Regions from separate parts of the Homo sapiens genome. Here all the other regions are linked to region 6. The links are contacts of gene promoters, found by promoter capture Hi-C in blood cells and fetal thymus (Javierre and others, 2016). All regions are on one chromosome and are shown on one strand. Each heading gives the region's core, a stretch centred on a gene start or on the middle of the fragment in contact. The rest is flanking DNA. Distances are from core to core; before and after follow the strand shown. Region 1 overlaps RBFA (ribosome binding factor A). Region 2 overlaps PARD6G (par-6 family cell polarity regulator gamma). Region 3 has its middle 2.4 kb from the start of TXNL4A. Region 4 has its middle 14 kb from the start of RBFA. Region 5 overlaps ADNP2 (ADNP homeobox 2). Region 6 holds the start of NFATC1 (nuclear factor of activated T cells 1). Region 7 overlaps ADNP2 (ADNP homeobox 2).

What was found. The method cuts DNA at HindIII sites, captures the fragments that hold promoters and counts their contacts. A CHiCAGO score of 5 or more calls a contact.
Region 1: a contact is called between a fragment that was not itself captured here and the fragment with the promoter of NFATC1 in region 6, in 1 of 17 cell types (naive B cells). The highest score is 5.3, in naive B cells.
Region 2: a contact is called between a fragment that was not itself captured here and the fragment with the promoter of NFATC1 in region 6, in 4 of 17 cell types (erythroblasts, monocytes, total B cells and 1 more). The highest score is 7.0, in erythroblasts.
Region 3: a fragment that was not itself captured here is called in contact with the fragment with the promoter of NFATC1 in region 6 in 4 of 17 cell types (monocytes, total CD4 T cells, M0 macrophages and 1 more); the score reaches 6.0 in monocytes.
Region 4: a contact is called between a fragment that was not itself captured here and the fragment with the promoter of NFATC1 in region 6, in 5 of 17 cell types (naive B cells, monocytes, total CD8 T cells and 2 more). The highest score is 8.2, in naive B cells.
Region 5: a fragment that was not itself captured here is called in contact with the fragment with the promoter of NFATC1 in region 6 in 5 of 17 cell types (fetal thymus, erythroblasts, monocytes and 2 more); the score reaches 11.4 in fetal thymus.
Region 7: a contact is called between a fragment that was not itself captured here and the fragment with the promoter of NFATC1 in region 6, in 1 of 17 cell types (monocytes). The highest score is 5.5, in monocytes.

The regions. Positions count from the first base shown.
Region 1 is chr18:80,040,154-80,043,012 of GRCh38, reverse strand. It overlaps RBFA (ribosome binding factor A), which reads right to left. Exons shown (of 7, transcript NM_024805.3): 5 at 794-878. Among named protein-coding and RNA genes, the nearest start is that of RBFA, 7.1 kb to the right of the region's middle. The HindIII fragment of the contact is 3,769 bases long and covers 1-2,859 here.
Region 2 is chr18:80,158,653-80,161,503 of GRCh38, reverse strand. PARD6G (par-6 family cell polarity regulator gamma) reads left to right here. Exons shown (of 3, transcript NM_032510.4): 3 at 898-2,851. The coding sequence ends at 1,733. All of the region lies in intron 1 of PARD6G-AS1 (PARD6G antisense RNA 1), which reads right to left. Among named protein-coding and RNA genes, the nearest start is that of PARD6G-AS1, 12 kb to the right of the region's middle. RefSeq lists a silencer at 1,685-1,754. The HindIII fragment of the contact is 1,523 bases long and covers 538-2,060 here.
Region 3 is chr18:79,989,586-79,992,285 of GRCh38, reverse strand. It overlaps a transcript of TXNL4A not described here. Among named protein-coding and RNA genes, the nearest start is that of TXNL4A, 2.4 kb to the right of the region's middle. The HindIII fragment of the contact is 1,408 bases long and covers 671-2,078 here.
Region 4 is chr18:80,019,109-80,021,808 of GRCh38, reverse strand. It overlaps a transcript of TXNL4A not described here. Among named protein-coding and RNA genes, the nearest start is that of RBFA, 14 kb to the left of the region's middle. The HindIII fragment of the contact is 171 bases long and covers 1,301-1,471 here.
Region 5 is chr18:80,110,297-80,112,996 of GRCh38, reverse strand. All of the region lies in intron 1 of ADNP2 (ADNP homeobox 2), which reads right to left. Among named protein-coding and RNA genes, the nearest start is that of ADNP2, 2.4 kb to the right of the region's middle. The HindIII fragment of the contact is 3,157 bases long and covers 1-2,700 here.
Region 6 is chr18:79,394,605-79,397,427 of GRCh38, reverse strand. It overlaps NFATC1 (nuclear factor of activated T cells 1), which reads right to left and starts at 1,498. Exons shown (of 10, transcript NM_001278669.2): 1 at 1,077-1,498. The coding sequence starts at 1,203. RefSeq lists silencers at 803-902, 1,263-1,662 and enhancers at 559-1,106, 2,748-2,823. The HindIII fragment of the contact is 8,960 bases long and covers 1-2,823 here.
Region 7 is chr18:80,134,259-80,136,958 of GRCh38, reverse strand. It overlaps ADNP2 (ADNP homeobox 2), which reads right to left. Exons shown (of 4, transcript NM_014913.4): 4 at 1-1,347. Among named protein-coding and RNA genes, the nearest start is that of PARD6G-AS1, 12 kb to the left of the region's middle. The HindIII fragment of the contact is 1,078 bases long and covers 810-1,887 here.

The DNA.
Region 1 (2,859 bases), core at 284-2,783, 650 kb before region 6:
ATCCATTTCGAGAGGTGGGAGGGGGAGACAGGCGTGGGAGGGCAACTCTGGCCGTGTTGAGTTCATACCCTAGTTAGAGCTACAGTGATAAGCATAAAAAAATTAAAACCAGAAACAGCAACTACTTCTGGGGACCTGGCTGGGAACAGGGGCACAGGAGAAAGGGACAGCCTTTTCATTTGCACCTTTCTTTCATTACTTTTCATTTGTTCCCTTCTCAGTGGTTTCTTCTCTTTTTTTTTTTTGACACGGAGTCTCTCACTCTGCTGCCTGGAGTGCAGTGGCACAATCTCGGCTCACTGCAACCTCCGCCTTCCCGGTTCAACTGATTCTTCTGCCTCAGCCTCCCGAGCAGCTGAGACTACGGGCGCACGCCACCACACCTAGCTAATTTTTTTGTATTTTTAGTAGAGACAGGGTTTCACCGTATTGGCCAGGCTAGTCTCTAACTCCTGACCTTGTGATCCACCTGCCTCGGCCTCCCAAAGTGCTGGGATTACAGGCTTGAGCCACTGCACCTGGCCTCTTCTCTTTTTTAACTGTACATTATCTTTTCAGGATTTAAAACTTAAATTTAAAACTTTATTCATATAAGCGTTTATGTTATAAAAAGTTAATTATTACCTGGGCCCGGTGGCTCACACCTATAAATCCCAGCACTTTGGGAGGCTGAGACAGAAGGATCCCTTGAGGCCAGGAGTTCAAGACTAGCCTGGACAATATAGCAAGACTCTGTCTCTAATTAAAAAAATAAAAATTTTTAAATTTTAAAAAGTTTTTTTGAAAACCTTACCTCAGCTAGAGCTGCATTTCCCTTGTCTTGAACAAACACTATCGGTGGCACATTCCTCAGGGTCTGCTGGGACATCAAAAGGTGCCTAGGAGACAGAACGCACAGACCCTCACAGCTGTGCCGTGACACTCAGTGGAGAGGCGTGACAGTGCTGAACATATGATTCAAGATGTAACCAAGAGGCAGGAGTGAGAGGCCGGGCGCGGTGGCTCACGCCTGTAATCCCAGCACTTTGGGAGGCCGAGGCGGGCGGATCACGAGGTCAGGAGATCGAGACCATCCTGGCTAACATGGTGAAACCCCGTCTCTACTAAAAATACAAAAAATTAGCCAGGCGTGGCGGCAGGCACCTGTAGTCCCAGCTACTCGGGAGGCTGAGGCAGAAGAATGGCCTGAACCCGGGAGGCGGAACTTGCAGTGAGCCAAGATAGTGCCACTACACTCCGGCCTGGGTGAAAGAACAAGACTCGGTCTCAAAAAAAAAGAAAAAAAAAAAAAAGAGGCAGGAGTGAGATTTATCGTATTACTCAAAAATGAAAACCTCAGCCCAGAAGAGTCATCTTTAGTCAACTACCACATCAAAAAAGGGATGCAAAATGCATCATAACTGCAATTGCCTTGACTTTTCTCAACGCAACTTGTGCGATCTGTACAAATAACCTGATCTGAACTCATCGCCGTAGCCTTGGGCTCCAGGGTCTGTGCACTAACAGCCTGTCCTCCTGTGCCCAGTGGACACGCCCTGGCACGACACAACCCTCAGGTTCCCAGATATTAGACACAGAAGTGATATTTGTATCATGCACATCACATAATACAGACCTAGGGCCAATGTAGGCACGGCACATATAACCAGCGAAAGCCGTGACCACAGATCTTTGGTACACAGCTATGGAAAACGGTGACCCTAAATCTTGGGTGACCGCAGGAGTTGGGAAGAGGGACATTCAGCTCAACTGAATTTTCTGATACCTAAAAATCAGAAAACAATGCTGTTTCAACACTTGTCAATAATCTCTCATTTTCTTGCTTTTGTTAAACAGTAAGAAATAAGCATTCTCTGATATGCAGTTTCACAGACCCCTGGGCATCATCGTGTGTGGTAATGATGCAGGGAAGCCAGGCAGGGTGCCTGGAACGAAGCCCACACACGGCCACCTTTTCTACGTCTGTCCCCACCCTAAACATGGGGCATGATGAGAAGGGAGGCAGAAAGGAGGAATTCCAGTTCTGAGAGAGCTGGACAGTGAGCTGGATTTGGATTTCTGCATTTTTTAAAACTGAGGAGGAAACTGAATAATTTCTTTATTATCATCCAGCTCAGCAATTCCCAAAATTGTTGGTCCCAGGATCCTTTACATTCTTAAAAATTACTGAAGATCCCAAAGAGCATTTGTTTATGTGGGTTCTATCTATCAATATTTACTATACTACAAACTAAAACTGAGAACTCTAAAAGCTACGTCTTTTTAAAGTCGCTTAAAAACCCACTAAATGCTTACATAGACATTTTTAACAAAAAATATATATATACACTCCCCCCCACAAAATCAATGAAAAGCATGGAATTGTTTATGTATTTGCAAATTCTCCAAGGCCAGCTTCATGGAAGACAGCTGGGATCTCACTGCTGCTTCTGCACTCTGTCCTTCCTCTCACTGAAATACAAGAAGAGCCAGCGCAGTAGCTCATGCCTGTAATCTCAACACTTTGGGAGGCTCAGGCCAGAGGATCGCTTAAGCCCAGGAGTTGGAGACCAGCCTAGACAACATAGAGAGATCCTATCTCTACAAAAAATACAAAATTAGCCAAGTGTGGTGGCATGCACCTGTGCTTCCAGCTGTATGGGAAGCTGAGGCAGGAAGATCACTTGAGCCTGGGAGGTTGAGGCTGCAGGAGCCAAGATTGTGTCTCTGCACTCCAGCCTGGGAGACAGAATGAGATCCTGTCTCAAAAAAAGCAAAAAAAAAAAAAAAAAAATTCAGGCCTCCCAGTTATGTGTTGGAAAAGACAGAATTTAACAGCCATGAGAAAAGTATGGATCTTCTTTGTCACAAAAATTCAAC
Region 2 (2,851 bases), core at 50-2,549, 760 kb before region 6:
TTACTTTAGACTAAGCTCCTTACGTTTCTGCTTGATTAATTCAGTGGACTTTCATTTTATTTTGCAGTAGCCCAACTTTAGGGTAAAGTTTACACACTGCCACAAATGTGTCATGCCACAGGCTGGCAGGTGTGGGCAGGCGGATCCCACAGGGTCCCTGGGAGACCTGAGGAAGAGAGCTGCACAGCCCCCATGGGAGGCTGGGCATATTGGTGAGCCTTGAGGCTCCATGTGCCTACAAATAGCACTGACTGTGCGGGACCTCACAGAAGGGAAGCAGCCATCCTCTGATCCCACTCCTTCCTCTACTCATCTCCCCTCATCAGCTGCTAACCAAAAACGCAGGGAAATGCTCACACGCCCGACTGAGTGACACATTCAGGGGCCTTGAATGCTGGCTAGAAGACACTGTGGTGGGGCTTGCGCATAGAAAAGAAGAAAGCAGGAAAGGTCTCTCTTAGTTGTAATTAACCTTAGAAAAAAACGAGCCTCCGTCTTACAGTTGAGAGAAGGAAATATGGGAGAATGGGCAAAGCTTAAGAAGTCCCCAGTCCAGCCTGCTGCCTCCCAGAAGGCTGAGGCACTCGCCAGCCCTCCAAGCCCTAAACCCTCCACTGCCATTGATTCTCTCTGCTGCAGCTGCCTGCTAGCACCTTTTAATCTCTGAGTTCTTTGGTTTGGTGCCTGTGGAGCTGTAAGGAGAGTGCTAGAGAGTTAATTTTAGGGGCTGCACTTGAGCTTGCCTGATTTCAGCTCAGCCTGCAGGTCTGGAATGCTCCTGTGCACCCTGGGTGCTTCGGCGTCACGCAGATGGAACAGCAGTGCCAGGTGTATGACGGCCGAGGGCTCAGGCGGGGCTCGGTTGTGTGTCCCCTCTAACTGTCCCCTCTCCCGCAGAGGAGGCCGAGCGTGGCAGCCTCGGCGCGGGCTCGCTGTGCAGGCGGAGGCGGGCGCTGGGCGCGCTGCGTGATGAAGGACCCCGGCGGCGTGCACACCTGGACATCGGCCTCCCGCGCGACTTCCGCCCCGTATCATCCATCATCGATGTGGACCTGGTCCCCGAGACGCACCGGCGAGTGCGGCTGCACCGGCACGGCTGCGAGAAGCCGCTGGGCTTCTACATCCGCGATGGCGCCAGCGTGCGCGTGACCCCGCACGGGCTGGAGAAGGTGCCCGGCATCTTCATCTCGCGCATGGTACCCGGGGGCCTGGCGGAGAGCACCGGGCTGCTGGCTGTGAATGACGAGGTCCTGGAGGTGAACGGCATTGAGGTGGCCGGGAAGACGCTGGACCAGGTCACGGACATGATGATCGCCAACAGCCACAACCTCATCGTCACCGTCAAGCCCGCCAACCAGCGCAACAACGTGGTGCGCGGCGGCCGCGCGTTGGGCAGCTCGGGACCGCCCTCGGACGGCACCGCGGGCTTCGTGGGTCCCCCCGCCCCGCGCGTCCTGCAGAACTTCCACCCCGACGAGGCGGAGAGCGATGAGGACAACGACGTCGTCATCGAGGGCACACTGGAGCCTGCACGTCCCCCCCAGACCCCGGGCGCGCCCGCAGGCAGCCTCTCCCGGGTCAATGGCGCGGGCCTGGCGCAGCGGCTGCAGCGGGACCTGGCCCTGGACGGCGGCCTCCAGCGGCTGCTCAGCTCCCTGCGGGCCGACCCCCGTCACAGCCTGGCGCTGCCGCCAGGCGGCGTGGAGGAGCACGGGCCCGCGGTCACGCTCTAGACTCCCGAGAGGCCCCCAAATCCTAGCTCCAGTTCCCCGGTAAGGACAGGGACAGGACCTGCAGACTGCATCCGCTCATTTTTTGTTGTTTTTGTGACCACAAAAACAACGCTGCTCTTTGTTTCAACTTCCGGATATAAAAACACAAGTATTGCCTATTTTTATAGAATTTCGCCACAGAACTTAAAATGAACGCCTGTAGAGACACTCTATACCAGGCCTGAGTGCAGGTCTTGGCGCCTTTGCAAAGTGATAGAAAAGATCTGACCAAGTGCAAAAAAATGCTTTTTAAAATTTTTACAAATACTTTGTTTTTAAAGTGAAGCTTTAAAATTACTTTTTTAAAATAGTCAAATTCATGTTTTTAAGTAAGTTGGCCCATGCAACATATCTCAGCATTCTTGCTGTGCTCTCTGCTGACTTGCAGGCGAGGCCGACTGTGCTGATGTACGTGACAAGAGGCTGGTTTTTAATAACGAATGCAGCCAGGTGCAGTGGCTCACGTCTGTAATCCCAGCACTTTGGGAGGCCTACGTGGGCTGATCACGAGGTCAGGAGGTCGAGACCAGCATGGCCAACATGGTGAAACCCTGTCTCTACTAAAAATATAAAAATTAGCCAGGTGTGGTGGCAGGCGCCTGTAATCCCAGCTACCTTGGGAGGCTGAGGCAGGAGAATCGCTTGAACCCGGGAGGCAGAGGTTGCAGTGAGCTGAGATCGCACCACTGCACTCCAGCCTGGGTGACAGAGCAAGACTCTGTCTCGGGAAAAAAAAAAAATACACCCAAACCTGTCCATGTACAACCATGGAGATGAATTCCAGATTTTCACACTGTTCATAGTCATAATTCGGTTGGGACAGGAGAGCTCCCACCAGCACACTTATGGCACCCGCAGCTGTGGAATTGTTCCGGGGCTTTTTTTTGTTTGTTTTGAGACATAGTGTCTTGTTCTGTCATCCAAGCTGGAGGGATCTCAGCTCACTGCAACCTCCGCCTCCTGGGTTCAAGCAATTCTCCTGCCTCAGCCTCCCAAGGAGCTGGGACAGGCACATGCCACCATACCCAGCTAATTTTTGTATTTTTAGTAGAGATGGGATTTCACCACGTTGGTCAGGC
Region 3 (2,700 bases), core at 125-2,624, 590 kb before region 6:
CACTGAGGAACAGTCACTAACCATTAGGAAAAGGCAAATGAAAACCACCTTATCATTTTATACCTACCAGTATGACCATAATACAAGGCTGTGAAAGGAAAGTATCTTGGGTCCCTTCAACCTGCCTCCCATTCTAGTCAGTCATCCCTCTGCTCACTGAGACAGATGCACAGCTGACTGTCTCCTTTGGAAAGGCTGATCAGAAACTCACAAGAATGCAACTGTTCATCTCTCACATATCTGTGACCTGGAAGCCCCCTTCCCGCTTTGAGTCTTCCTGTCCTTGCTTCAAGTTGTCCCGCCTTTCCAGACTGAACCAATGTTCTTCTTACATATATTGATTGATGTCTCATGCCTCCCTAAAATGTATAAAACTAAGCTGTGCCCCGACCACCTCGGGCACATATCATCAGGACCTCCTGAGGCAGTGTCATGGATGCATCCTCAACCTTGGAAAAATAAACTTTCTAAATTAATTGAGACCTGTCTCAGATTTTTGGGGTTCACGAGGTACATAAATAACAAGCATGGGCAAGAATGTGGAAAAACTGAAACCCTCACACATTCCTGGTGAGAATGTAAAATGGTGTAGCCAATTTGGAAAACAATTTAGCAATACTTAAAAATGTTAAACAGTTACCACATGAAAACTTAAGTCCACACAAAAGCTTGTACATGAATGTTCATAGCAGCATTACTCATAATAGTAAAAAAATGCAAACAACCCAAATGTCAATCAACTGATGGATAAAATGTAGTATATCCATATAATGGAATAGTTTCTAATTTTTTGTTTTATTTAATGAAATATTCATCAGCAATTAAAAAGAACTAGCTGTTGATGTCTGCTACAATATGGACCTTGAGAACATTATGTTAAATGAAAGCAGTCACAAACGACTCCATATTTTGTGTTTCCATCTATATGAAATGTCTAGAATAGGTAAATCTATAGAGGCAGAAAATAGATTAGTGATTGCCAGGGGCTGAGGGAATGGGAGGGAAATGGGAAATGACTGTTAATGGGTATAGGTTTTCTTTTCGGGGTGATAACATTCTCCTAAAATTAGATTGTGGTATTGGTTCCACAACACTGAAAAACCATCTCACCTTCAATTGGTGAATTTTATAGTATATGGATTAGATCTCAACAAAAGTTTTTTTTTTTTTTTTTTTTTGAGACGGAGTCTGGCTCTGTCGCCCAGGCTGGAGTGCAGTGGTACAATCTCGGCTCACTGCAAGCTCCGCCTCCCGGGTTCACGCCATTCTCCTGCCTCAGCCTCCCGAGTAGCTGGGACTACAGGCGCCCGCCACCGCGCCCGGCTAATTTTTTTTTTGTATTTTTAGTAGAGACGGGGTTTCACCGTGTTAGCCAGGATGGTCTCGATCTCCTGACCTCGTGATCCGCCCGCCTCGGCCTCCCAAAGTGCTGGGATTACAGGCGTGAGCCACCGCGCCCGGCCAAAAGTTTTTATTAAAGAAAAGATTTATCTGGAGATGGATAGTGGTGATGGTTGCATAATATGAATGTACTTAATGTCCTTAAAAATTAAGGCGATAAATCTTGTTATAAGTAACACAATAAAAAATGAGTTTCAATAAATTATTTGGGGACATTTGAGTCTTATGCCTTAGCTTGGAACAACTCTCCTGTGAATAAAATGCTTGTGATGTGTTAAGCAACTGTGTTTGTATCTGAAATGAGTGACTACCAAAATGACGGTAAGGAATTTTTTAGAAGGCAATAGCCTGACCTTAGTAAGGGCTCAGATTTCTCCAGTGTGTACCTGGTGCCAATGAAGTACAGGAGATTTTGTTTTATCATCCCATCTCATGGATGAGGAAACTGAAGTTTGTTGAGATAACTTATGCAAGGCACAGATGAACCTGAACACGCCTTTATGTAACTAAAACCCTCACTGTTAACCACTATGCTTATATTCTGTGCCTCTGCTTTACTCAATTATAAAATGAAAGAGATTTAGATGATCTCTAATATCCTACCAACCTGAAATTGTTTCATTACAATAAAGCATTTCGTATATAATTGGGAAATATTCTGTATTATGTAAAAAGCTTAATCTGGCAGTGAGCTGCACTTGTGATTCTAGTATTTAAATTGTGGGTGCATATTATCAAAGCACCTTATGGTGCTGTGTCCCAGAGGAAACCAAACATGGAACCCATTTCAATCCCCATGCCAGCAGGCTCTTCAGACTGTAGTTCTCACCATGCCACAGCCCATCTGAGAGACACCACAGCATCTGCATAGTGATTTGTTGTTGTTTTTGAGATGGAGTCTCACTCTGTCACCCAGGCTGGAGTGAAGTGGTGCGATCTCAGCTCACTGCAACCTCCACCCCCTGGGTTCAAGCGATTCTCCTGCCTCAGCCTCCCTAGTAGCTGGGATTATAGGCGGGCGCCACCATGCCCGGGTAATTTTTTGTATTTTTAGTAGAGACGGGGTTTCACCATGTTGGCCAGACTGGTCTTGAACTCCCGACCATAGGCGATCCGCCGGCCTCGGCCTCCCAAAGTGCTGGGATTACAGGCGTGAGCCACCGCGCCCGGGCGTGATTTGTTTTAAATTTGTCATCTAAAGGACCACCAGGATAGCTAGATAGTAGACAAGAGTTTTACTATCAATATCAGTTTGCAAACCAGGGAGTCTCCAGCATGAACCCAAAGTGCTCTCTCAGA
Region 4 (2,700 bases), core at 137-2,636, 620 kb before region 6:
AGTACCCGCTAAAGCCAAAAGCTGAAAAACAGAACAAAAACCTAAAAGCCATTATGAATAAATTAAAAGCACAAAACCTTCTCAAGCATTGCAACACCCCAATATTAGGGGTACAGAAACCCAGTGGGAAATGCAGGCTAGTTCAGAACCTCCATCTTGTTAATAAAGCTATAGTTCCAATCCATCCAGTGGTTCCTAATCCGTATACTTTGCTAACTCAAATACCTGAGGGAACTAAATGATTCAGTTTTAAACCTAACAAGTGCCTTTTTCTGCATACCATTGCACCCTAACTCCCAATACTTGTTTGCTTTAAGAAAGTCCCTCCAACCAGCCAGGGGCAGTGGCTCATGCCTGTAATCCCAGCACTTTGGGAGGCCGAGGGGGGCAGATCACGAGGTCAGGAGATCAAGACCATCCTGGCTAACACAGTGAAACCCCGTCTCCACTAAAAAATACAAAAAATTAGCCAGGCATGGTGGCGGGTGCCCATAGTCCCAGCTACTCGGGAGGCTGAGGCAGGAGAATGGCATGAACCTGGGAGGTGGAGCTTGCAGTGAGCTGAGATCATGGCACTGTAGTCCAGCCTGGGCAACAGAGCAAGACTCCATCTCAAAAAAAAAAAAGATCCCTCCAACCAGGCTAACTAGTTAACCTGTACAGTGCTGCCTCAGGGAGTCCAAAACAGTGCCCACCTGTTTGGGCAAGCATTATCAAAAAATCTCTCTGAGTTTTCTCATCCTCAGGTTAAAGTTTTACAATATGTATATAATATTATCCTCTGTGCCCCAACTGAGGGGGTTTCTCAAGAAGGCACTAACGCTCTTTATTTTCTAGCAGGTAGAGGATATAAAGTTTCCAAATCTAATGCTCAGCTCTGTCAAACTTCAGTGAGGTACCTTGGTCTAGTCTTGTCAGAAAGAACCAAAACATTAGGTGAGAAGATAATTAAGACTATTTCCCCATTTCTCCTCCCTGGAACACTCAAACAGCTAAGAGGATTTTTGGGCATTACAGGTTTTTGTAAATTGTAAATACCTGGGTACAGTAAAATGGCTTGCCCTTTATACTGCCTTATAAAATAAACTCAATCAGCTATAAACTCACTCCCTAACTTAAAAACCTGAGGCTCAGAAGGCCTTTAATCAGCTAAAGCCTGACTTAAAGCACCTACGCTCAGTCTTCCCATAGGGAAGGCGTTTAATCTTTATGTCTCAAAAAGAAAGGGAATAGCCTTGGGAGTTTTAACTTAGGCTCAAGGTCCACCCCAGCAGCCATTTGGTTACCTAAGCAAAAAGCTTAACTTGGTGGCTAAAAAATGGCCAGCTTGCCTCTGAGCAGTTGCAGTTGCATGGTTGAGTTAGCCATGAGGAATAAGTTAACTGTTTACACACCCCATAATGTAGCAGCACTGCTATCCTCTAAAGGAAGTCTGTGGCTAACAGGTAATCACCTCCTCAAATATCAAGCTTTGCTGCTGGAAAAACCTGCAGTTCAGTTAAAGACCTGTCCTGGCCTGAACCCAGCCACTTTCCTCCCAGAGGAAACTGGAGAACCTGAACAGGAGTGTAAACAAATGGTGGTGCAAATCTATGCAGCCAAAAAAACCTCAAGGAAATAGGAGGAGGAAGTCACATCTTACGTGGATGGTGGTGGGCAAAGAGAGAGCCTGTGCTGGCAAACTCCCGTTTTTAAAGCCATCAGATTTCCTGAGACTCATTCACTATCATGAGAACAGTGCAGGAAAGACCCGCCCCCACAATTCAATCACCTTTCACCGGGTTCCTCCCACAACACAAGGGAATTGTGGGAGTTACAATTCAAGATGAGATTTGGGTGGGGACACAGCCAAACCATATCACTATCTTGGGGTTCCCTCTGCTGGCTTTACCTTTAACCATTAAAAATGGATATAAATAAAGCATGGTATGGGAGCATTTTTAACGCTACGCAAAAAAACACACACCCTGAGGGTAAGACTTACTCCTTTAGACTAGGTAAAGTTAATAAGATAGCAAATGCCTTCTTCTGCTTTAAAAGCAGAGGAAAAGAACCATACTTGGGAAACCTTTAAATATTCCAAAAGTATGCTCATAATTGCTAAGAGTACAGAGATCTGGAGACTAAGAAGGAACAAGGGTGACACCAAACTGGGAGAGACTATAGAAAAATTTTAATCTAGCCAGACCTCCTAGGTGGAATTCCCAATGGGAATAGCTATCCCTGGGCAGAAATGCCACCCCTTGCCAACCTTATTATCAGGTAATAAATAACACATGGTCCTTGATATGGTTTGGCTGTGTCCCCACCAAAATCTCAACTTGAATTTTATCTCCCAGAATTCCCATGTGTTGTGGGAGGGACCCAGGGGGAGGTACTTGAATCATGGGAACCAGTCTTTCCTGTGCTGTTCTCATGATAAATTCTCTTGAGACCTGATGGGTTTATCAGGGGTTTTTGCTTTTGCTTCTTCCTCATTTTCTCTTGCTGCCACCATGTAAGAAGTGCCTTTCACCTCCCACCATGATTTTGAGACCTCCCCAGCCATTTGGAAATAAGTCCAATTAAACCTTTTCTTGTTCCTAGTTTCAGGTATGTCTTTATCAGCAGCATGAAAACAAACTAATGCAGTACATTGGTACCAGTAGAGTCGGGTGTTGCTGAGAAGATATCCGAAAATGCAGAAGTGACTTTGGAACT
Region 5 (2,700 bases), core at 188-2,687, 720 kb before region 6:
CAGACTTGATTTCATTTCCTCCTTAAAGTTCCACTATCCTCTCTATCCTCTGGGGTTCTTCTCCAAAAGCTGGCTGACAAACAGTGTTGTCTAAAGTAGGGACCATCATCCATATGTATCTGAAACAGGGAAGCTAAATTTACTGCTTCCAAGAAAATCTCAACTCACACAGCCAGAGCTGATCTTATCACAGAGTTTTGAGAAGCCTGGGATACAAAGACTGGTGGACTTTTAAAAGCAGAGTGATTGGGGATTGGCTGATTCATGTAAGCATGGTTGTACATACATGAACCTCAGAAAGGGGTTACTAAAATGAGGCTCTCAGAGATTGGGCAGGGGTCTGTGGTTACTTGTTCAAGGCTTGGGACTAGGGCCAAGGAGTTGTCACTTTTTTATTTTTTTCCCTTGAATTTGAAAAATAGGAACTTTTTATTCTCAAATGAAAGTGCTTCCATTCCTTCATCGTTATTGTGGCCCTTCTAAACAAAACAAAACACAAGCACACAAATACCTTTTCATTTAAAAAAAGGAGGGGGAAAAGTTCCCCCCTCCTTTTTTTTTTTGTTTAGCAGTTTCCTAACTGCTTTAGGGAAACCAACAAAGGATAAAAAATAAAATGCAAGTAAATTACAGGTTTCATAACTGTTGCCAACCACTTTGGGGATGGGAAGCTGACTTTTACCCATAATTTATCCATTCTAAGCTACCACAATTTATTCATTCTTAGATCCATTCTTATAGCATAATTTATCAATCCTAAGATAAAATATTCCATGTAAAATGCCCAGTGGATGAATTAACTATGAAATAGTTCAATGTTTTCATATTTATAGATCCTCTATAGATACTGTTCTCCATAGAATCTTAGAGCTCAGTAAAATCTGTATTTTCACCATTAGAAAACAGCAGGCTAACCGGGGCGGCCAACTATTTCCACATCATGCACCAACCTATCAATTTCAATTCAAAATAAATCTCAATTCCTAATGTTTAGGGTAGGCATGGAACTACCATAAAATTCCACTGATATGCACAAGAAAATATTATTTCCCAAAAGGGTACATAAAGGACTTCTCTGGGGATTTTTTAGTATAATGATCTCGTAAGGATATTCTATTATAGAAAAAAAAATACATTCTAAAAGAAAATGTTGGCCGGGTGCAACGGCTCACACCTGTAATCCCAGCACTTTGGAAGGCTAAGGCGGGCAGATCACCTGAGGTCAGGAGTTGGAGACCAGCCTGACCAATATGGTGAAACCCTGTCTCTACTAAAAATTACCAAAAAATTGGCTGGGTCCTACTCGGGACGCTGAGGCAGGAGAATCGCTTGAACCCGGGAGACAGAGGTTGCAGTGAGCCGAGATCACACCACTGCACTCCAGCCTGGGCGACAGGGCAAAACTCCGTCTCAAAAAAAAAAAAAAAAAATGTCATTCAGGTAATACAGTAATAAACAATACTTTTTAAGCCACAGAACTTTTTTTTAGTTCCTGTGAAATCGCACAAAACGATGGTCACCAAAAAGGATTCTGGAGTTGTGTGCCCGGGTTTACATCAGCTCCACCATTTATGAGCTGTGTAATCTTCAGGAAATCACTTACTCTCTCCAGGCCTCAGCTGGCTCTTCTGTAAAACAGGGCGAGTATGACCTAATTCACAGAGTAGTTATGAGGATAAATGAGTTAATACATGCAAAACAGCACATAAGCACTGAGTTTGCTATTAATTAACTCCAAAAAACTAAATGAAATGTCCCAACTATTGGAATACAGGACTTTTTAAAAAGCAACTTTAAAAACACAGAATACTTGGATCATATATTCAGCAGATCTGGGTTCAAATCACTGGGAGATACCGGTTTCCACCTATGTAACACATTGCCCTAACAGGTCTAGGATAGCCAGAGGATGAAGGGCAGGGCAGAAACCAAGTTTGCAATATGCTATTGGTGAACTTATGAGGGCAATCATAAATTAACCAACAGCATATTGCAAACTTGGGTTCAAATTAAAAACGTGTCTCCCAAATCCCAGAATCTCTTCAGCTAAAAATCTTAGCATAGCTGTCATCTTCCCCCATAAACAGTGATCAACTCCTTTCAGACATGTCCTAACCCTCACTGTTCCTCCCCTCAACTAGAGGGCCGGTAGGACAACCTCTTGTCTCATCTTCACTCTTGTACTTCCTTTCTTAACACACATCTGTCACTTCATGTTTAAGGACGACGGGCTCAATGCTGTCTTCGCAGTGAAGTCCTAACTCCAACCGAAATTTAACCGAAATATTAATACACACTCATACATGGCCAACTCTCCAAGAACATCTTTAAATAAGTTACACATACATTACCGACTTCCAAATACAGCTGAACATGTACTTTACACAACTCTTTTTACATGTGGTCCTCTCTCCCACTAATGCTCCTCACCCCCAAAAATGGTACCCAGACTCCAAACCCCCTCTTTTGATAAAGGCTCTGCGTGGCAGATGCCCACAGTACTCTACAAACTGCTGCCCCACTTGCCAATCTGCATTGTCAGTTACCTGCTTACCAGTTTCTCCTCCCCCACCCCACTCCTCCACAGCCAGTATATTCCTCAAGATCCCAAGAGGCAGTGATTACCCGTGCAAATAGAGTAAGTTTTAAGCACGCAGGCAAGTCTTCTGTTCAAATAAACTACTTAAAATATCTAATTAT
Region 6 (2,823 bases), core at 249-2,748:
GCCCGGTTCTCAAGCAAGCCCCGCAGTTATCAGGGTCGCGCAGGAAGCGGCAGCGCTCGGAAGGACGTCTGCCCTTATGAAGTACATATGTTGGCAGGTGTGCTGGCGCTCTTTAAATAAATTATATAAAATATTTCAGAGCTGGTAAGGAATTTGGAAAAGCGTCTTCCAATTTCCATTAGCATTGCAATCCCTAATCCCTAACTCGTATGCTCACACCTCTGCAAGGGTATTTTCAAAGCCACTTGCAGGAGCCCACCCGGCATCGCCAGGGGTGTGTGCCGGGGACGGGCTAAGGTGGGGGACTGGAATGTGAGATGCGCCGCAGGGGGGTCTCAGCGCCCCCCACACCGGGTTTCAGGGACCCACACTGTGCCATCTTTTTTTCACTATAAAGAAGCAGCTCGAAACTTGGCGGTTCCTTTTCAAACTTGCCTGAAACATCTTCTCTGGCTGGAACTCCTGCCTATAGGATTTCAAAATGGCTTAAATTCGGGGCTGTGCTGCGGCCGCGCTTTGGATCTTTTGGTCCTGCAGGTCCAGGAGCCGGCGTGACGGGCTCGGCCCTGGGGAATTCAGGGGCGCGGCGCGAGGGAGACGCCGCCACGAGCTCGGGGTGGGGGTGGGGGGCGCAGAACCCCCAAACCGCGATCTTGGCGCCAGAGGGTGGCTCTGCCTCGCTCAGGAAGACACGGGGCATCCTTCACTCCCAAGGAAGCCTCCCTTCCTCCCTCCCACGTGCCCTCTGTGGTCCTGACGGCCCAGCCTCGCCCGTCCCCAAATCGCCGGCCTGCGAGCCGCTTCCTCGGCGGGACCCGCGGCGGCCTCGCCTCGCGCCCTCAGCGCTGGGGCAGAGGAGACACCTATTGGCAGAAGGCGCGCTCGGAACCGGGCTGCTGGGAGCTGGGGGACGCCGTTCCCGGTCCGCGCCGCGCCCCTCCCTGGGCGCACAGACCCGGCCGACCTCGTTCTCTGGCCCGGACCCCTCCGTGCGGGCGACGGGGGCGGGGTCGGGGGGCGCGGCCCGGGCCGTGGGGGGCGCAGGGGTCCGGGGGCGGAGGCCGCGCGGGGCTTACCTTCCTCCGCTGACTTCATGGTGCCGCCGGCGCGCGGCGCGGGCCCCAAAGTTTCTCCTCTCCCGAAGACCGCAGCCGCAGGGCCAAGTGGAAACTTGGAAGGGACTGGAAAGCTGGTGCTTGGCATCCGCGCGGCGGCGGCGGGGAGTGGAGCGGCGGGCGGAGGCACAGGAGAAGCGGCCGCCCCGCGCTGCCGGGGTCGGGTCTCCGGGAAGACAGCCCTCGCCCCGGGCTCAGCGCCGCGCGCCCCGGAGGAAAGTCATCGAGGGGCGTGTGCGCGCGTGGCGGGGCCCGGCCGCGGCCCTAGGACCTGCGCGGTGGCTCCGAGCCCTGCCCGCGCCCCGGTGCCCGCGCCCTGCTGCTGGGATCTGGCGCGGCGACTCCGCCGGCGAGTTCGGAGCCTCTGAGTCTCGCTCTGACGCAGGGCCGCGCTCTGCCTCCTGCCTTTTTAAAGCTGGAAAACACCTCCCCCGCCTCCCCGCCGGCCCGGCGGCTCCCGCGCCCCCTCCCTGCCGTGACATCACGCCCCTGCTGCCCGGGCCCGCGCGGGGCCCCGGGGACGAGTCGCCGAGCGCCCGCCCCTCCCCGCGCCGCGGCAGCCGCTCGCCTGGGGGCAGGGGCGCAAGAGGCGGGGCGCGCACGGGGAGGGGGGGCGCACGGGGAGGGGGGGGCGCACGGGGAGGGGGGGCGCCCGGGGAGGGGGGCGCCCGGGGAGGGGGGGCGCACGGGGAGGGGGGCGCACGGGGAGGGGGGGCGCACGGGGAGGGGGGCGCACGGGGAGGGGCGCACGGGGAGGGGATGGGGGCGTAGGGGCGGGAACGGGGAATCCGGGGGCCGGGCAGGGGGGCGCTGGGGCTGGCGGGGGAAACGGGGGCGAACGGGCCAGACGGGACGCCTGAGTCCACGCGGGTGTCCGGAGGGAGCCCGGCCCTGCTGGAAAAGGGGCGGGGGGCGGGGGCCGGGGGCCGGGGAGGGGTGTCGAGAAAGCCCGGCATGCTGAAGTCATTATGTAAAATCGCAGGCTTCCCCCGCTGTGGAAATTTGGAAAAGCGCTTCACTGGCAGGCCCTAGAAAGGAAATTCCCATCCCGCTAAATTACTAACAGATTGCGTGGCCGTCCCGGGACGTCGAGTTATTGTCATTTTTATTCTGTAAATATCTGCTCGACCTAGACGGCCTGTGGCAGGGGCCGGCGTGGGGAGGCCCGGGGACGCGCTCACCTGCCCTAGCCGCCCGGAGGGGGCGTTTTATGGGCGCGACTGCGCGACTTCTGACGGGGGGAGGCCCCCCGGCCACTCACACTTTCCTCTCTTACGTCTCCCTGCGTCTCTTCGGGCGCAGCTCAGCTGCCAACACGGCACCGCATTTTCTTGTTGGCTTTGGATGGGGGGGGTTGGAGGTTAAAGTGTCTGGTGTGTAGAAACCATAAATCGATTGCACGACACCCTTATGTGATTTAAACTAAACCCAAAGGCTAAACTCGTGTCTGCTGCGGGGCCCAGGAGGTCCGCAGACCCCCAGGGATCACTGTGCCCCGTGGGTGCCCCCCACAAGCGCCTCCTCCCTGCCGGGGGAGGCGGTCGGGCGCTGCAGAGCCCGCGAAGGTGCGCGGCCAGAGCCCGTCCGTCCCGCGTCCCGAGGCCTGGCTCCATTCGGCCGCCCCGACTCAGCACAAATGGAACCCCGGCTTTTCCACCGCAGGCCTCGGCCTGGAGAGACGTGCCCGGATTAGCGGGGTGGTGGCCGC
Region 7 (2,700 bases), core at 99-2,598, 740 kb before region 6:
GACCACCTGGCCTGCAGAGATAACCCTCAATGGGGCTGTCTGGCCTGGGGGAAGAACCCGTGACGGAGCTGTCTGGCCCACAGGGAGAACTCCTGACTGGACCATCTGGCCAGTAGGAAGAACCCCAGAAGTTGCTGTTTGCCCAGGGATAACCCCTGCAGGAGTCATCTGGCCTGCAGGAGTCATCTGGCCTGCAGGAAGGACTCCAGACGGGACCGCCCGACTCACAGAAAGCACCCCTGGCGAGACAGCCTGCAGGACCCCAGGGGTGACAGAGGGGCTCACAGGAAGAACACCAGGCCCAACAGGTCTGTTTATGGGTCCCACAGGCTGGGTGAGGGGTAAAACCCCAGGGCGAACAGTCTGATTTATGGGGAGGACACTAGTTCCAACAGACTTATTGACAGGTCCGACTGGCTGACTCAAGGGCAACACAGGAGGATTCACAGACTGATGAAGTGGAACCCCGTGAGAAAGAAAGACGGGCTGAGGTGCTGGGGGCTGCAGGGTGAGGCTGTTCTGGCCCACAGGCAGAGGGCTGGAGACCAGAGTCATGTGGGATTGGCCAGCAGCAGGGGGGGAATGAGTGAGGCTTCCAGGGGCACCCTGGGCCACAGTCACTGGCTGTCCTGCGGCTGGGCTTGGACTGTTCTGTGGCAAAGCAAGATGGAAGCAAGGAGGCTGCGCTGGAGCGCTTGGAGCACTGCCATTTGCTGGTGCAGCCAAATGTGCTGCTGGTTTTGGAGCAATGTGCGTTTGCTTCAAGAGTCCAGTCCTCTTAATATGTTCTGAAATCACAGATCTAAGCTTATTCTCCAAATCTCTGTGTATGTCTGATGTCAAAATGTGATACATTAACGCATCCTGGCTGCTGGCATTGGCGTTGCACTTTTTACAGTAATATTTGTCAGGTGGTGGGATCTTCTCTATAGAAACAGTATCGTTAGTTTTCGGTTGCTCACCCATTTCCTCAGTTCTTAGGCCAAAGTAGGAGTTAATTAAGTAGTGAAAATGGGCTACCAGCACATGCTTCTTCATGCTGTAGTACAAAGTGTTTGAAAAGTTACATTTTAGACATGTGAAACTTATCACATCGCTCCTAGATGATTTAGTTTCACCTAAAATATTCACTGTGTAGTTCTGGACTTTCCGGACAGGTGCATGGAACATTCTGAAGTGCCTTCCCACAACTTTGGGCTGAGATGCAAATACACAGTTTGGGCAAGGGATCACCAGCTCTTGGTCAATTTCATCTTCATGGTAACGATGTAAATGATTCTTGAATGAAGTAAGCACCTTTGTAGAGTATTTACAGAGGCCACAACAGTATGGCTTTGTTCGATATCTCTGTTAAAAGAAAAGAAAGCCTTAAGCATAATTGAATAAACTGTCAGATGCTAACCTTCCACAGTCCCTGAGGACTTGATCCCTTTTCTTCTAATGTGCTAGGCATTTAACCTGACTTAATGTTTTCTAACCCAGGGGTTGGCAAACTTTTTCTGTGAAGGGCCAGAGAGTGATTATGTTAGGACTGTGGGCCATACAGTACAGTCTCTGTGGCAACTACTCAGCACTGCCATTGTTGTACAAAAGTCCCCAAAATAATTTGTAATTTATGTTCCAATAAAACTTTATTTACAAACACCAATTTGAATTTCATATACTTTCCACATGTCACAAAATAGTATTGTCATTTTTTTCTTAAACATTTAAAAGCCTAACAACCACTCCTAGCTCATGGCTCACGGGCTAATTCATACAAATATAGGATTTGGCTCACAACTCATAGTTTGCTGACCCCTGTTCTAAGTCATCCACTAAAACCACAAATATAATTACTTAGTCCTGTATTCTGAATTATTAATAACAGCATCAATTTTAAAAGCTTCATTAATTTTCTACAAAAGAAAGTTATTTTCTCCCCCTCATCCCATTTCTCTTAATTCCAATGTTGTTTTTGCTCCAAATTCTAAAACCTCTGGAATTTATCCATAACTAACCTAGCTTTCAAAATGTTAAACCCATCATTACTATCTTTCTACTTCCTCTATTTCTAGAGAAGGTAGGAGCCAAATGGACAGTGTTTGGCCCATGCAGGTACCCAATAAACTATCTGATAAAACAGTAAAGAAAGTGAGACTAAGCCTAAACTCACACTATGGATGACCCTAAGATAAGGGTAAGGCCACAGAACGCAACACTGACCATATGGGATTTCTATTTAAAGCACATTTTGGGAAATTTAACAAGTTCGCGGCCTAAAAGCATATTCATACAACAGGATGCAATCTGTTCTAACATCTAGTAAGACTTGCTGGTTTGCAATAACTTGAGAGCACAGTGAAATCTTTGGTCTCATGACAGAGTCTTGAGAACCCAGAGCTGGTGAAACACAAAACACCTGCTCCCCAGTTCCACAAACAAGGAAGCTAAGACCTAGCTTCATCTAAAGCCCCAGAGCTGGCTGTGGTACTACCACAGTGATCAAGGGTTAATTCTCATCCTTTCCTAAATCTGTGTGCTCATTATCACTCTCTCTCACACACACACACACACACACACACACACACACTCTTCCATTCTTCAGTTTTTTGTTTTTTTTGACAGAGTCTCACTCTGTTACTGAGGCTGGAGTGCAGTGGCGTGATCTCAGCTCACTGCAACCTACGCCATCCCGGTTCAAGCGATTCTCCTGCCTCA